Regions from separate parts of the Homo sapiens genome. Here region 2 is linked to region 1. The links are contacts of gene promoters, found by promoter capture Hi-C in blood cells and fetal thymus (Javierre and others, 2016). All regions are on one chromosome and are shown on one strand. Each heading gives the region's core, a stretch centred on a gene start or on the middle of the fragment in contact. The rest is flanking DNA. Distances are from core to core; before and after follow the strand shown. Region 1 holds the start of TRPM6 (transient receptor potential cation channel subfamily M member 6). Region 2 overlaps TRPM6 (transient receptor potential cation channel subfamily M member 6).

Region 1 (4,610 bases), core at 1,640-4,139:
GGGAGAGGATCAGAAAAAATAACTATTGGCTATTGTTATGACATGACTTTACCTATAAAACAAACCTGCACTGTACCCCTGAACCTAAAATAAAAGTTAAAAATAAAAAAGACTCTCTTTCCTACCTCTTCAGTGCCTCTTCCAGTAATATGAAGTTAAAACCAGTTACTGTGAGTGCTCACCTGATTTTTGGTTCTTAGAAAGGTGCTTTTTTTGTGCGTACATAGTTGTTGAATTTGGTTTTCCTACAAAGGGGATGATCGGGGCCTTCTATTCCACCTTCTTGCTCCACCTCTTCCCAGTTTCATTTTTGATTGTTCATCTTCCTCTTATAAACTTGAGCTACTTGTAGACTGGACAATGTCTTATTCATCTTTGTTTTCCTGGTGCCCAGCATGATGCCTGACAAACAGTCTATGTTCAGGAAATATTTGTTGGCCTGAATCAAACCACACTAGACTACTAATGAATATTTTAAAATTTAATTTTCACAGCTACCCTGGGCATAGGTATGTTTGTGCCCAGAATAGTTTTCTTTTTATTTATTTATTTTTTGAGATATGGTCTTACTCTGTTGCCCAGTCTGGAGTGCAGTGGTGCCATCATAGCTCACTGCAGCCCCGACCTCCTGGGCTCAAGCAATCCTCTCACCTCAGCCATCCAAGTAGCTGGCACCACAAGTGTAAGCCACCACGCGTGGCTAATTTTTGTTTTTTTTTTTTGTACAGATGGGGTTTTGCCATGTTGACCAGGCTGGTCTCGAAATCATGAGTTCAAGTGATTCTCCTGCCTCGGCCTCCCTAAATGCTGGGATTACAGGCATGAGCCACCATGCCTGGACAAGAAGTTTTATATACAAGTTTGACAACTGATTAAAGTGCTTGTGAAAGATACAGATTCCTGGGCCCCACCCTATAAATCCTGATACAAGAGATCTGGGTAGGGTGGTTGGAGCCTGGGAATCTGCACTTTTGACAAATGCCTCAGATGTTTCTGATACAGCTTGGGAACCAAAGGCAGCTTGTAAACTAGTACATTCAATGCTTTAAGCACTTCACATTGCCCTTGTATTTCAGGCTCTAAATGCCTTGAAGCTTGATCTGAAAAGAATATATGATCATCCTAACATGTAGGTTTACCAAAGATGGTAAACTAGAAGATGGTAGACTTCTTACAAATCTTGAGTTCCAAATGGCTACTCTTCTTGGTGGGTCTGAAGATTTCTGAGAACTCTCTGACCCAGTCACTGTAAGAGACCTAACAAAGAAATTGTATGGAAGACAGAGATCGAGAAGGATTTACTTGCCTTAGAAGAGCTTTCAGAACCTGTTAACTGTTTACAGATTAACGCTTTAAAGAAGATGGGTTAAGGAGAGGAAAGGAGATTAAATGTGTTTATAGAAGAACAACAAATGCCTAGCACTTAGGGAGGCTGAAGTGGGTGGATTGCTTGAGTTCAGAAGTTCGAGACCAGCCTGGGCAACATGGTGAAACTCCGTATCTACAAAAATTACAAAAATTAGCCAGGTGTAGTGGCTTGCACATGTAGTCCTAGCTACTTGCGGGGGCTGAGGCTGGAGGATTGCTTGAGCCCAGGAGGTGGAGGTTGCAGTGAGCCGACATAGTGCCACTGCACTCCAGCCCGGTGACAGAGCGAGACCCTGGCTCAACAACAACAGCAACAACAACAAAAAGAAAAACAACAAAATGCCAATACACATATGAGAGATTACAATTTTCCAATAAACAAAGAAATGCTTATTAAAACCACATTGAGAAATGAGGGGAAAAAACCTGTAAACTGTCTGCAAATGTGAATTCACCAGGCAAAAATTCATAATAAACTAAATGAGTAGGTGTCCCTAATTTTAAGTCGGTTGTCAGGGATGAATGACTAGCATTGTTAATTACACTTGTAATAATGTGAGCATCATTTTGCCTGTGTGCTTTGTGCCACCTCTGCCAACACCCTGGGATCCACCCCAAATCACTGACCACAACCTTAATCAAGACTGCCTAGGCCGGGCATGGTGGCTCACGCCTGTAATCCTAGCACTCTGGAAGGCTGAGGCATGAAGATCGCTTGAGTCCAGAGTTTGAGACCAGCCTGGGCAACATAGTGAGACCCCATTTCTAAAATAAATAAATAAATAAATAAATAAATAAATAAATAAATAAATAAAATTAGCCAGGCACTGTGGTGTGTGCCTGTAGTCCCAACTACTCTCTGGAGCCTGAAGTGGAAGGATCACTTGAGCCTGGGAGGTCAAGGATGCAGTGAGCCATGATCCTGCCACTGCACTCCAGCCTGGGCAACAGAGCAAGACTCCATCTCTAAAAAAAGAAGAAAGAAAGAAAGAGAGAAAGAAAGAAAGAAAGAAAGAAAGAAAGAAAGAAAGAAAGAAAGAAAGAAAGAGAAGATGCCTATCCAGAGGAATCCACCAAAACAAAACAAAACAAACAAAAAAAATGAAAAAAAAACCAGAAATAACAAAACATTTGTATTGTATGTTACACATGAAGCACATTAAGTGATTTCCTTTGTTCATTGTAACCTTGTGAGGGAACTGGATTTTTGTCCCTATTATTCCCATTGCATAGATAAATAAACTGAGGCTTGACATGCCCAATAAGTCACAGGTAGTAAAAGCAGTGCGTTAGCTTAAATCTCTGATCTCCTCACGCCCCACACTGACTCAACAGTAACAATACATTACTACAAAGGATGTCTGTGATGACAGTGGCCATCCCATTTGATCCTCGTTATTCTTCTTTTATCGAAGGAAACTGAGAGTCACCTTCTTTTCTAGGCAGTTAGGTAACTGAAGCCGAAAGGTATTGTGACAGATCCACTGGGCTGTAAAAGGCAGCGTGTGGAGGTGGAGCCCAGAGTTTCTGCCTCCACAGTTAAAAGCTCAGACAGGGCTTTGGGAGCAGGGCCTGCAAATCAAAGATGAAAGAACAACCTGTCTTGGAGCGCTTGCAGGTAAGCTCAGGCTGCTCGACTGGCGGGGAACAAGGACCTTAGGCGATTCGCTAGATCTGCGCCCCCGGCCTTAGATAGAAGTGGGTGGGGCCAGGGACACTACATCTAACGAGGATCTAGAATAGCTAGGATTTATGAAATACCGGCTTTCAAGTTCTCTGGTCTCCACCCAAAGATGATTATCCTATCTAAGGTAGTGTACGCTACTACAGGGCAGGTCCCGCAGCCCCCGTTTCAAGAGCTGGGATGCGGCCATAGCGGAGGTGGTGTCAGAGCGGAAACCTAGCGGGGGTCGGGGGTTCAGCTCGGGGCGGTGGGAAACACCCCGGGAGAGGAGGCAGCTCTGATTCCGCTCCGGGCCGGAGGGAGAGGAGTTCGGAGGTGGCTTGAGCTGAGAATCCGGAGGAGAGAAGGCGCGTTTTGAGCTGCCACGGGCACAGATCTCAGACCCGGACGCTGACTAGCCGGGGGTCGCGGCTTTCCGAGGCGGCTGGAGAAGTGCCCAGACGGCCGTCCCTCCGCGCCCCTGCGCGTCCCCGTGCGCCCAGTGTTCCCCGTGCAGGAGTCCCGGAGCGATGACAGCGCCGGTTACGGTAAACACCCGCCCCGCCGCAGTCCGCTTCCTTCCCCAACGCGGCGCCGCCCGGACTTGCAACCTCAGGAGTCCCCGCTGGCTCCTCTCCACCGCTGGCATATGGCGCAACAGGAAGTTCTGGGGGCTTGGAGAGGGAGGGTGCTCCTGGCTGTTGGGAGAGCACTGGAGACGCTTGGGAGAGTAGTGGAGATCCTGGTAATTTCTTGGTCTCGCCTATTTTGTCTGGACTTTCTCACACTGTGTATGAAAAATAAGTATAATTGAGCACATTGTATTTCAGGAATAGTCCAGGCAGCTTAGCAAACGTTAGCTCATTTCAGCCTGCTCTGATAAGAACATATGCTCTGGAGCCAGGTAGCCTGAATTAGCATCCCAGCTGCATCACTACCTGTGATTTTGGGCGAGTTAACATCTGTTCTTCGGCTTTCTCATCTGGAAAATGGGATAATACGATTTGTAGTTTCAAGATGAATTGAAATGCTACATGCCATTTGCACTTAGAATAATGCCTGACGTATTTAGCAGGTTGTAAGAGTTTGGGATTCTTAACTATTTCATCCTGGCAGTAATCCTATAAAGTCCAAGTATCCTGTCTCTCCCATCTCCACCGGTTTACAGGTGAGGAAAATGAAACCAAAGGAGAAAAGCAGATTTGAGATTTGAACTCAGGTCAGTGCTTTAAGACACGGAGAACATAAAAAAGAAAAAAAAAAAAGAGAAAAAAAGACACTGAGAACATAGATGTTCTAGTCATACACATCATTTGTGATTATTTGTTCTAGGGAGAAATGATCACCTTTAATTGTTAAAGTGGGAAACGAGTTATTCAATTTCTTTCCCCCTGTATACAGATTTTGATGTTTCACTGTCATCTGCTTTGGGTTCTTACAGGACTGATAAAGCGTTAGCTATTTTGGCCAGACTGGAATCTGGGCTTGACTTTAAGAATCTGGTTGTTTCTTATGTTTCCCACCAGGAGTGGTAACCATCTAGGGTAGGAGTTAGCATGAGTTTTGTTTTTTGGGCCAA
Region 2 (4,241 bases), core at 1,107-3,606, 110 kb after region 1:
CTTATTTTCAAGAACCTCAACTCAGAAACTGGGTGCGGTAGTGCATGCCTGTAGTCCTAGCTACTCAGGAGGTTGAGGCACAAGAATTGCTTGAGCTCAGAAGTTTAAAGCTGGGGTGCACCATGATCATGCCTGTGAATAGCCACTTCGGCCTGGGCAACACTGTGAGTCAGGATGCGGAAATAGGGGTTCTCACTTGTGTTTTTTCATAAGCTTATATATTTTGAGGTTTTCCTAATTCATCTTGTTTAGCCAGATCTTCACTGCATGATATGACTATCGTACTAATTGTTGTCAGAGAACATTGCGTTTGGTGGTTTTATTCTGTAGTTCCTGTCAAGCAGTTCCACAATTGGTACCAGGCCCATTTCTAGATAGTTCCCAGAAATACAGGAAGCAGGGGGCATAAATGCGCAATCCTCTTCCCAATTCCTAAATCTAAAATACCTCTGAAAACTGAAATCCTTTTTTCTTCACAAATTGGGGAAAGACTCATTTGGCCAAAAAAGGCTGATGAGAATTGATGCGAAGCCATTTATTCTCTTTATTTCTTGTAGTATGAATATTCATTGATGTTGGCTGCAGAAAATAGCAATATGTTTGATTTTAGGGATTGCTTTAATCTTAACTAGGGATTTCACTTCATTTATGACATACTCACTATATTAATTTTCTGAAACTAGAAAAAAACAGTTCTGAATTCTAAAATACTCTGGACTCCAGGAGTTTCAGCTAAGGGGATAGCGGGCTATTTATGTGTTTAGGTAGGTCCTTAGGGGGACAGGTCATCCCCTGCAGTATATTATGGGGTTGACAGGGTGATATGCTTTTGCTGGTGGTAGGTGACTCTGTGAAGTATTTTTTCTCCTCCTAAGTCACTTTGAAGATTTTTTTTTCTTTTTCATACCCTGCTCCCTGACCAAGAGATTCAGCCTTTGTACGAAAGCCAAAGCATACCTGAAGTTAACTTGAAGGCTTATAATTATACTGTAAATTTCAGGCCGCTAATAGAGAGACGTCCCAGGCTTTGGCTGCAGAACCATTGCAACCTAATAGCAGAATGTGAATCACTTGATAAATCCTGGAATTGACTAGGATTTGCCCAGACTTCCTAGTACCACATGAAAGAACGTTTCCTGGGTTCACCTTGGTCTGTGCTTATAGGATGATTCATATAAAACTCAAGTAAAGTTTAAAATGAATTCACCCTGAGCTTTGTGGAACATTGTTGAATTTTCATAACATTGCTTCTGATCCTTTATATTGAGGATAAAGACATTTACACAAGGGGCAGCAGTGCCACCTTGCGGACAATTACAGGAAAGCGCCACATACTGCAAGCTGCGCCTGTCATTGGAATTACTCTGGATTGTTTGCTCTCAGGGATCCACATAAGGTTCACATCATGACACCTGTAAAGTTTCTTGCTCATAGGAGATTCTTTAGTGAAAGAAGACATTAGAGTTGGGTAGGGGGTGGGAGATACCGAATCTTTTCAGTGTCTGAAAATTTTTTTCCTGCCATTTAAATCAGAAAGCACTGTATACCTGAGTTGTGAATACATTTTACAGCTGAATAATACTTTTAGCCATGTTTTCAATTTAAAATTCAGATTTTTTGTCATTAATTTTAACAGAAAATAATGTAACAATTGCATTTTAAATAAATTCTGGAGAATTGTATTAGTTCTTTTTCTCCTAATGTAAGCAAAACCATTCAAGAAAGAGAACTTTCCAATTTAATCCTTTTAGCAGCATCACTTCATTATATATTTTCTAAGTATTATAAACTTGCTTAAAAGATGGTATATTATTCTATTAGGCAACAGTGAAAGCCAAGGTAATAGACCAAATGTGAATGCTGGAGTTTGATGAAGAATTGTGTTAGCCTTATAATATCACTTAGTGATGTGTCTTTTTAATGAGTTATTTATAATTGTGTCAGAGAAGGTATACAGCTGTGATTGGCCATTGAATGGTAATAATAACATCTCATTCTTCAGTAGAAGGATTTAGTATGCACAAACTCTGCGTAACAAGGTGAAACTTTCTTATACTTACTGGATTAATTTCAATAGACTGCCTTCTTCTAATCTTGCATTTAACCTATTGGTTATTTACTGTCATTGTAATAGCTAAAAGAGTTGGAAGACAGGTTGATTAATGAGCACAAATATACACTTTGATAGAAGAAATAAGACCTAGTGTTCAATAGATTGGTAGGGTTTTTGTTGTTGTTGTTGTTGTTGTTGTTTGAGATGGAGTCTCGCTCTGTTGCCCAGGCTGGAGTGCAGTGGAGCGATCTCGGCTCACTGTAGCCTCTGCCTCCTGGGTTCAAATGTTTCTCCCACCTCAGCCTCCTGAGTAGCTGGGATTACAGGCATGGACCACCACACCCAGCTAATTTTTTTTGTTTGTTTGTTTTAAGGAGCTGAGAGTTTAATAGGCAAATAAGAAGGAAGAAGCTCCCCGGTACAGAGATAGAGGGAGGGGGGCTCCAAAGCCGAGAGAGGAAACCCCCAATTTTTGTATTTTTACTAGAGGTGGGGTTTCACCATGTTGGCCAGGCTGGTCTTGAACTCCTGATCTCAAGTGATCCACCTGCCTCGGCCTCCCAAAGTGCTGGGATTACAGGTGTGAGCCACCATGCCCTGCCATCAGTAGGTTGACTACAGTTAAAATTAATTGATTATACATTTCAAAATAGCTAGAAGAGAATAATTCAAATGTTTCTATCTTAAAGGACAGGTAAATATTTAAGGAGATCTGCCTCAGCCTCCTGAGTAGCTGTGACTACAGGCTTGTGCCACCAATTGCCCTGATGTGATTATATGAATGTATCAAATTATCACATGTATCTCAAAAATAGGTACATCTAATATGAATCAATTAAAATTTAATTAATTTTAGAAAGTGTTGGCAGAGAGAAAAGAAGACAGATTCCCCATTTTCATATAAACGCAGTGAATTTTTCTTAAATGTGAAAGCATTCTAACCTGTGAAAATATTGAAGAGAAAGAATTCTATATATGAGTCATTTTCAAAGAATGAGTAGGAGAGACCCAGGCTGGTGTTTCCAGTTCTTTCTTTTCTTTTCCTTTTTTGAGACAGGGTCTCGCTTTTTAGCCCATGCTGGAGTGTAGTGGCGTGATCACAGCTCCTGCAGCCTTGACCTCCCAGGCTCAAGCCATCCTTCTGCCTCAGTTTCCTGTGTAGCTGGGACCACAGGCGCCTAGCTAATATTGAAATTTTTTTGTAGAGAGAGGGTCTGCCTGTGTTGCCCAGGCTGGTTTCTAATTCCTGAGCTCAAGCGATCCACCCCTGCTCAGCCTCCAAAAGTGTTGGGATTACAAGCGTGAACCACTGCGCCCAGCTCCCAGTTGTTTATTGGTGCTGTTTCTGCATTAATATTAGAAATAGTTTGACAAGGTGACAAACTTATCACAACAGGCTATAGTTTCTCATTTTCAATACAAGTGGAAGAAAAGCCACTCATGCCCTGAGGTGAATAATGATTCTTTCTGTGTTTCATACTTATTTCTATAGAACTCTACCTCAGTAAGGAGGATCTGAAAAAACTTCATGATTTTGAGGAGCAGTGCGTGGAAAAATACTTCCATGAGAAGATGGAAGATGTGAATTGTAGTTGTGAGGAACGAATCCGAGTGACATCAGAAAGGTAAAAGATATAAATCTTTTCCATTCTGAAACCACTAACACAACGTGATTCTGCTAGAATATCTAAAGGTGTAGAAAGATCTTTCAAATCCCAGAGGTTTGAGTTCTTTATAATTTGAAACATTTAACAACATATAATATTCATGTAATCAAAGTATATTTATTAAGCATCTACTATATTCCAGGCACTCTTTTAGTTACTAGGAATAAGTGGTTAATAAGACATAAGAATCCTTGTCCTCATGGGACTTACATTCATGCGCGCGCGCGTGTGTGTGTGTGCGCATGTGTGTAGGTGGTGAGAGAAATGAAGTGGATGGAGAACAAAACCTAAGTAAGGAACCACAAAAATAGATTTGTAATTTATTATCAGGCAGTAAAAGAGCTATGAAGAAAAATAAAGTAGCTGGAGAGAACAGGAAATGATGGTGGCGTGAAATCTAGCGGAGCTGGGGGTTGAGTGGACTGTTTAGATGGTCTGGTTCTAGAAGGTCGCTCTGAGGGCATTGAGTGGAGGCCTGAAAGAAGTGAGGCAGTGGGCGAGGCAGGGGCGTCTGGTGGAAT

The links. The method cuts DNA at HindIII sites, captures the fragments that hold promoters and counts their contacts. A CHiCAGO score of 5 or more calls a contact.
Region 2: a contact is called between a fragment that was not itself captured here and the fragment with the promoter of TRPM6 in region 1, in 1 of 17 cell types (neutrophils). The highest score is 6.6, in neutrophils.

Annotation. Positions count from the first base shown.
Region 1 is chr9:74,886,200-74,890,809 of GRCh38, reverse strand. It overlaps TRPM6 (transient receptor potential cation channel subfamily M member 6), which reads left to right and starts at 2,889. Exons shown (of 39, transcript NM_017662.5): 1 at 2,889-2,986. The coding sequence starts at 2,954. RefSeq lists an enhancer at 3,503-3,797. The HindIII fragment of the contact is 4,553 bases long and covers 1,097-4,610 here.
Region 2 is chr9:74,771,140-74,775,380 of GRCh38, reverse strand. TRPM6 (transient receptor potential cation channel subfamily M member 6) reads left to right here. Exons shown (of 39, transcript NM_017662.5): 25 at 3,546-3,678. Among named protein-coding and RNA genes, the nearest start is that of TRPM6, 110 kb to the left of the region's middle. RefSeq lists an enhancer at 4,157-4,206. The HindIII fragment of the contact is 4,282 bases long and covers 216-4,241 here.